Regions from separate parts of the Homo sapiens genome. Here region 1 is linked to region 2. The links are contacts of gene promoters, found by promoter capture Hi-C in human tissues and cell types (Jung and others, 2019). All regions are on one chromosome and are shown on one strand. Each heading gives the region's core, a stretch centred on a gene start or on the middle of the fragment in contact. The rest is flanking DNA. Distances are from core to core; before and after follow the strand shown.

Evidence for each region. Contacts are between HindIII fragments. The study calls those that stand out against the background at their distance.
Region 1: a fragment that was not itself captured here is called in contact with the fragment with the promoter of P2RY2 in region 2 in 1 of the 25 tissues and cell types used here (spleen).

Annotation. Positions count from the first base shown.
Region 1 is chr11:72,021,075-72,024,989 of GRCh38, reverse strand. It overlaps NUMA1 (nuclear mitotic apparatus protein 1), which reads left to right. Exons shown (of 27, transcript NM_006185.4): 5 at 637-716; 6 at 1,843-1,925; 7 at 2,571-2,651; 8 at 3,699-3,786. Among named protein-coding and RNA genes, the nearest start is that of NUMA1-AS1, 8.7 kb to the right of the region's middle. The HindIII fragment of the contact is 4,192 bases long and covers 1-3,915 here.
Region 2 is chr11:73,216,044-73,219,760 of GRCh38, reverse strand. P2RY2 (purinergic receptor P2Y2) reads right to left here and starts at 1,480. Exons shown (of 3, transcript NM_002564.4): 1 at 1,329-1,480. LOC124902709 (a long non-coding RNA gene) reads left to right here and starts at 1,568. Exons shown (of 3, transcript XR_007062773.1): 1 at 1,568-1,734. RefSeq lists enhancers at 209-927, 928-1,646 and a silencer at 1,360-1,569. The HindIII fragment of the contact is 8,220 bases long and covers 1-3,717 here.

The sequences.
Region 1 (3,915 bases), core at 729-3,228, 1.2 Mb after region 2:
GGAGTCAGAGGTTATAGTGAGCCGAGATCGTGCCACTGCACTCCAGCCTGGGCAACAGAGCGAGATTCTGTCTCAAACAAACAAACAAACAAACAACACTCTAGTCCCTGGGATCCTCCTCTGGGAGGCTTTTGCCATCTCAGCCTTCAGCCTAGTGGGGGAACTTCACCCTGTCACTTCAGAGCCTTGTTTCCTCCTGTTCTTTCAGTTCTTGGATGTTTTTCCCTCCCCATGGTCTTCTCTCACTCTTAACCTAGGTGTGTTCTCCAGGCTTCCTGACAGTTTAGAGTTGAGCCATTCCAGATGGTGTAATATAGCTTCCCGTTCATCTGTGCTGCCTCCGTCTCCTCTCGGCCCCTTTCCACAGAGCTTTTTTATGTTTGCAAATAGGGTGGCAGAGTGCCATCTTTTCCAGAAGAACCCCATGCCTCAAGTCCCCTCTTCCCACCCACCACACAGTTCCATCTGGATAAATGGTGTCCTGGTATCTGTCACCTGCCTCCAGGATCTGATCTGGATCTCTTCCAGATCCAGCAGAGATCAAGACTGGAAGGAATGGGGAGGTACTATGAAATGCAGCAGCAAGGAGGCAAAGATTGCTGAATACTCTGGTCCTAATACTTGCTCTTTTTCTAGCCATGGCACTGAAGAGGGACAGCAAATCTTGAAGCAGCCGGTGTCAGAGAGACTGGACTTTGTGTGCAGTTTTCTGCAGAGTAAGCACCTTTCTTATCCAGCTATGAAGAAGCTGCTTCCTCAGCTCGTGGGATTGGAGAGTCCAGAGGAACTAGTTCATGGGTGTCTGGAGGAGAAAAATTTCAAGGCTCCCCACTCTTTAACACAAAGATGAAAACAGCTGGTTCAGATCCCCTGGGTCTTGTGATGCCTTCATCAGTTGGTGTAAGAAGAGTGTCCCTTCAGTCCCAGAGCCCTTCTCGGAGATCTAGGTGGAGCCAGAAGGTTACTTTTTGGGACCTGTCACTTTTAACTCTTTGAGCACCTTAAGTTTCTGTTTCCCCGAACTTCAAGGAGACAGAAGAGAGAATGAGTCTCTTTCCCTTGCAAGAAAAACTGTTTTTCCCAGATAACTTTGAATTAATTGCTTAGGCGATAGGTGTAGGGGCAGAGGCACATTAAGGTTGATCTTGACCCCCCTCACTGCTTGTGTGACCTTTCTGGACATAGGTTCCCTATCTATAATATGGAGATAACTGCTCTTCAAGTGGATGGGTGGATTAAATAAGAACACATGCAAAGCTTCTAGTACAGTGCTTTTCAGTTCCCCTCCCCTTGTCCAGCCTTAGACCACAGAGTCCTCGTCTTTGACATGGGGAGCTAGCTGCCATCTCCACCCCTAGAGAATTATAGGAAAGGTGAGGCTTTATTTAGATAAAGTAAGGTGTTAGTAATTTGAGCCCAGACCCTCGGGCAGTATAAGAGTCACGTATCCCTAGTTGTCCTTTTCTGACTCAGCTATAGGTTTACTCTGTGACCTCAGTTGGAACAGGATTCTAAAGTGACCTGGCATCTCTGGGCTCTTCCTCTGTGGTGCTGAGAGTTGGTGAGTGGGTGGGAGAGTGCAACATCATGACCCAGAGTTGCTGTGAATTCCGAGGCTGCTTTCTTCTTCCATTATCCCTGTAGCCCTTGGATTGACCCAGGATAGAACTGACTTCAGATGGAAAATTGTAAGGCAGGGGAAAGAGGCCATAGGAGTAAGGAGGCCTACATCTCATAGCCCCACCAGAGATAGCCATTCTGCTCCCCAGATTTCAGTGTTCTGGGATCTCAGGTATGGTTTCCAGGAAGTTCACCCTGTTTTCTACGTTGTTGTCATTGCAGAAAATCGAAAACATCCCTCTTCCCCAGAATGCCTGGTATCTGCACAGAAGGTGCTAGAGGGATCAGAGCTGGAACTGGCGAAGGTACCTATGGAATACCAGACTGGGGAGGCAGGGCAGGGTTGGGGTGATGGTACCTGAGGGACCCTGCAGGGCCTTCTCTTAACCCAAGGGGAGATGATGGGTGCTTTATTTCTGGGGCTCTAGTACGTTGGAGGTAGAACCAGGCAGCCACCTGTCTTGAGACAGAGGCTAATTTAGCCCAAGGATTCTAGGAGCCCATGATCTTATGACAGAGATTATGAAACAAACAATGGTTTACTAGACCATTACTGTGGGCCTCGGTGGAGACCTGGCAGAAATCAGGTCTCATTCGGCTATCACCATATTTTTATTATAGCTCAGTCTTAAGTCATTCCCTCTGCTCTTTCTGGGTGCTGGCCTATAGAGGGTACCTAAAGCTTCACACCCAGGGTTCCATGAGTCCAGGAATTGAGCCATGCAGGAATCTTGGCGCTCAGCTTTTTGTACAGTGTACACTATCCTTAATTAAAAAAAAAAAAAAAAAGTGTTTCCTGGAGCTGTTAAGGATGGTGGCCTGGGATTGCTGAATTCCAGGACTTTTAGAAGAGTCACCGGAATAGCTCAGAGTCCCCAGAACAGCCCAGAATGGGGGCACTGAGAAGAGAGACAGCCCCACTCAGTGACTGCCTCCTGTTTGGCTTCTAGATGACCATGCTGCTCTTATACCACTCTACCATGAGCTCCAAAAGTCCCAGGGACTGGGAACAGTTTGAATATAAAATTCAGGTAAGCCCTTGTGCCTCCATGCCACCTAGCAGGCCTAGCCCATGCTTCACCTCACCTGACTTGTTTTTCTTTGAACAGCAGATACTGGACTTTTTAAAAATACAGTTATAGCAATTATTGCCATTCATCATAGAAAGTCTGGGAAACGTTGAAAAGCATGCAGGAGGAAATAACAGTTGCCGATAAACTCATTCCCAGAGTTTGCTAACTTTTTAAAGGATGTACTTTCAAGTCCTTTTTTATGTGCATATGTTTAACTGTAATGTGTTTTAGGATAATACGTAGAAATTATTCTCTGTTCCTATATGTGTTTCTGTGTGTGTGTGTTTTTTTTCCCCCACAGAACTTTCACTTCATTTATCTCATCCTTTCCTCTGGTAGGGTCATCTGGAAGAGGCCAACATAGTTATATATAAAAGCTTCCTGGCCGGGCGTGGTGGCTCACGCCTATAGTCCCAGCACTTTGGGAGGCCGAGACAGGAGGATTGCTTGAGGCCAGGAGTTCAAGATCAGCCTGGGTAACATAGCGAGACCCTGTCTCAACAAAAAATATTTTTTTTAAAAAAAATGAGCTGGGTGTGGCAGTGTGTGTCTGTAGTTCTAGCTACTTGGGGAGCTGAGGAGGAGGAGTTGACTCCAGGAGTTGGAGGTTATAGTGAGCTATGATTGTGCCACTGTACTCCAGCCTGGGTGACAGAGCAAGATCTTGTTTCTTAACAACAATAACAATAAAAGCAACTTTCTGATTGTGTTACTTTCCTTAACAGTCACTTCACTTGTGGTCAGGAGTTAAGTCAGTCAGGAACTCTGACTTCGGTACATCTTGAGGGGAGGTGGGAGGGAAGGGGACAAGTGGGGTGAACATATCTCTAGTTGAATGTTGTTGGCTGGGTCATAGGACCTCAGCTCTGAGAGGGAGAATGGGATCCAGCAGGCTCCTAGGGCATGAGGGAGCCGGGGACTGGCACTGCCAGGGTGGAGCTCCTGGCAGCCATCCCTTCAGAGGCCTAACACCTAAGTGATGCTCTTTTTCTCCCTGTGGCCCAGGCTGAGTTGGCTGTCATTCTTAAATTTGTGCTGGACCATGAGGACGGGCTAAACCTTAATGAGGACCTAGAGAACTTCCTACAGAAAGGTAAGTAGGTACACACTCCTGAGAATCCCCTCATCTCTGAAATGGGGAATACTAGGATCCTGAGTTGTCAAGTATGGTGGGGGTTTGTTTCTGTCCCCAACACAAGGCAGAGTTGATGCTCAGGAAAAG
Region 2 (3,717 bases), core at 231-2,730:
CAGGGGCAAGAAATGAGAGACTCCAGGCAGCTGCTGCAAGGTAAAGAGTCAGGCGGGAGAGGTGGCTGGAAAGGCTGGCAGGCCCCAGTTATCAAATACCTTAAGTCCCAGGCTACAGGGTTCAGGCTTGGTCCTGTGGAAGGCTTGTGCCCTAGGGAGGGGCACAGTTGGGATTCTGGTTCTGGGAGGCTCCTTCCAGGGACTGACTTCCCATCCCCAAGCTGTGAGCCTGCCCATGGGGGGACACTGGTGCTGAACATGACACACTCATCAGCTCCTCAACAGCCCTCAAATTCCTTATCATTAGTCCCTTCTTACAGACGAGGCCACTGAGGCTCAGAGAAAGGACGGCTTGCCCAGGCCACACAGTGGCCAAGACAGGATTGGAACATAGATCTCTGAGTCTCCAGAGCTCTCTTGTGGACCTGTCTGCTCAGAGAATCTTCTTCCTTCCACTTCCACCCACAGGTAATAAACTTGCCTGGGTCTCCACCCAGATCCTCAAAACTCATAATTATTTCAGCTTAGATCCAAAACAAACCAGGCAGATCAGGCTGTGGTCCTGGGAAGCTGGGGATGCCATGCTGAGAGGAACAGCAGCCATGGACCCCACAAATCCCGAGCTGGCAATTCTGGTCTCCAGCAGTCCCCAACCCTTGGGCTGCGCTCCTGGAGGACCCCAAGAGGGCCACTGGCAGCCTTCGGGTTGGGGGGTGGGGTATCGCCTTTCTCCTGACTGACCCTTTCTACCGCACCATTTGCCAGATTAAAAGCCCGGGGACAGAGGCTTAACTGTCCTTTCTGGCCACTCCCTCCTCCCCCGCCCACTCCCTGCAACTGCCCCCTCAACATTACCAATGGTAGGTGGCCACCCAGAGTGACCCTGGGGTTAGGACAGTGGTAGGGGGTCTCCAGGGGTTCGCGTCTCTGGGCACCGGCCACCGCCTCACGCCACGGGGACGCTCACATCGGAGCACACACAGACAAGTTCCGCAGGCTTGGCCAGTCGCCCCGAGGGGCGCACACACTCACCCGCTAACACGCAGACCTCCCCAGTACGCTGACGCGCACAGCCTCACTACTGGGGCGCCCGTCCACACTCACCGAGACCGACGCTCCCGTGGAGACAAAGTTCAACCACGGACCCACAGGCGCGTTCAAGCCGTCCAGTTATGCGCTACACGCCGGCTCGCAACTGTGCCCCGGGGCGACAGCCGCTCCACAGCGCCCTCCCCTGCCCCGCGCCCAGTCCGCACCTGCGCCAGTCTGGCCCGCCGCTTCCCCGGGCCTCTCCCAGCGCCTTGTTCCCTCCAGACGCCCCACCCCACCTCTCGCCACTGCGCTGCGCTTCTCCTCTCAGGGTGCCGTCGCCGCCGCTCCCGGGTGCCAGTGCCCGGGTCCCGCCGCAGCCGCAGAGACCCACGTGCCTGGGAGCCCGGCTACCCACCTCCCTGCGCTGTTCCCCAACCCCGAAGCCGGGCCAGGCAGGGGGCGGGGCGGACTTTTGACTGACCCTGGCACCGCCCTCAACCCGCCCGGGTAGACACCGCGCCACCCGCTCCGGGACGCCGCCCAGCGACAAGGCCGCGGGGTCAGCGTGTCTGTACCGGTGCTGCAACGGGAGGGTCGGGCGGCGACGCTCTCACTGCCGGGCCAGAAGGAGGCCTCCCGGCTCCCTCACGCTAGAAGGGAGCTGGTTACCAGAGGTTTTCAGAGACGCCAAAGTTTTGCCAGGTCAGCCCGGTGCCTGCGTGGCCCACTGCGGGACCTTTGCGCCCAGCCACCGCGCCACCCTACCCCTGTCCCGCCCCTGCCCCAGCCCGGCTGGCCAGGAAGGGACCTACTGGGAGATACCTGCTCGGAACCCCAGGCTAAGGACGTACCTCCCTTGCTTGAAAGTGGGGGAAGGGGGTGCCTCTCTCCATTACCGTGGTTAGGAAAGCAGGGTACTCAGGATCCCGCCTCTCCCGTGCTCCCCACTTTCCCTGCCTTAATCTTATCAGCAGCTCCCTGAACTCCCCACTCTGGCCCCTTATCTTGAGCTGCTTTACCTCTCTTCTCTGTCGTCAACCCCACTCTAATGGCCTTCCCTGGTCGGGCTACCGGCTGCATGTCTGACCCGTTCGGAGACTGTGAGCTCCCGAGGGCAGGAACCAGGTCTGCCTTCTTCCTGCTGCTGTCCTAGAGGTCCTGGGAGGTGCTCAATCCTTGAAGGTGTGAATGGATGAATGAATGAGCACCCCGCCTCTCTCTCATTTCTGGTCTAGGAATCAGGAGTGTAGGTTCCTGTCTGGCTTCAGCACTGACTCTGGGAGACCTTGACCCAGTTCCATTCCCTGGCAGGGTCTTCTTTCCTGTGAAATGGAGCCAATCGCTCCGCTGGCTGGACAAGTGCAGAGGAGGCCTCTTCCTGTAGCCAAGGAACTTGCCCCGGGCCTTCGGGGCCTTGGGCCCTCTTGGGCTCCATATCAGCTGACTGGGCCTGGCTGCCAGGAAGGGTGCTGGCTGCAGCCCCACCAGGAGCAGTAGCAGAGTGGACACACAGCCCATAGTGGCTGAGCCGCCTCTGCAGTCCTGCTGGGGCCTTTGCTTGGGAGACACAAAGGCCCCTTGTCTAGCCTCCTGCGCCTATTGTCTAAGCTGGGCCACGCACCTTCCAGGGACCTAAGTATCCTCATAGCCCGAGTTATAGGGCCTAGGCCTTCAGGTTCCAGTGTGGGGAAGACCCTTTGGGCACTGGAACTCCAGCCAACCCTCTCTTTCTCTCCCCTCTTCCAAAACTTCAAACCTTATACTGTCACTGCCATTTAGCCCAGGAGAAACAAGTTTCTTTGACGCCAAGTTGAGGACCCAGGCTCGACCTTAGCCTTCAGCGGGCAAATCTGGTTGGTGGCCTGCCCAGGGCTCTGCCCCTGCTCTGGCCCAATTCCCTTACTTTACAGCTGAGGAAACTGCATTCCTGAGACATACAGCGTTTCAGCTACCACACAGGTGACTTAGTGAGGCTTGAGGAGCAGAGGAAGGGGCCTAGTCCTTGAACCCCATAGCCTTGGGTTTAGATTCCAGTCTTACCTCACCTGTCCTATGACTCCTCTCTGAGCCTGAGTTTCCTCTTTTGCAAAAGGGAGTAATACTAATCTCTCACTTGCTGGCCTGTCTTAAATTTTTTGAGAAAGGGCCTCACTCTGTCACCCAGGCCGTAGTGCAGTGGCATGATCACAGCACACTACAGTCTCTATGTCCCAGGGCCAAGGGATCCTCCCATCTCAGCCTCCCAAGTAGCTGGGAATACAGGCACATGCCACCATGCCGGGCTAATTTGTAAATTTTTTGTAGAGATGGGATCTCCCTGTGTTGACCAGGCTGGTCTCAAACTGCTGAGTCCAAGCAGTCCTCCTGCCTCGGCCTCCCAAAGTGCTGGGATTCCAGGCATGAGCCCCTGCACCCTATCCTTAAATTCTTTTTTCATGGTTTTATTCATCATCCCAAGCTGTCTGGGCTCAAGGCGTTAGTATCCCATGCAATGAGGGCCTAGAAGTTTCGTCTCCTGACATCCTCCCCAGGCAGTCCCATCGCTGGGTTTCAGAGGCCATCAAGCCCAGCAGGCTTCAAATCCCCCAACAGAGTCCCCCTTACCTGGGGCTGCCTGGGGAACTCCCATCCCACTTCAACTTGAGCACCTTTGCCTTTGTATTTTTATTTATTTACATTTCCTGG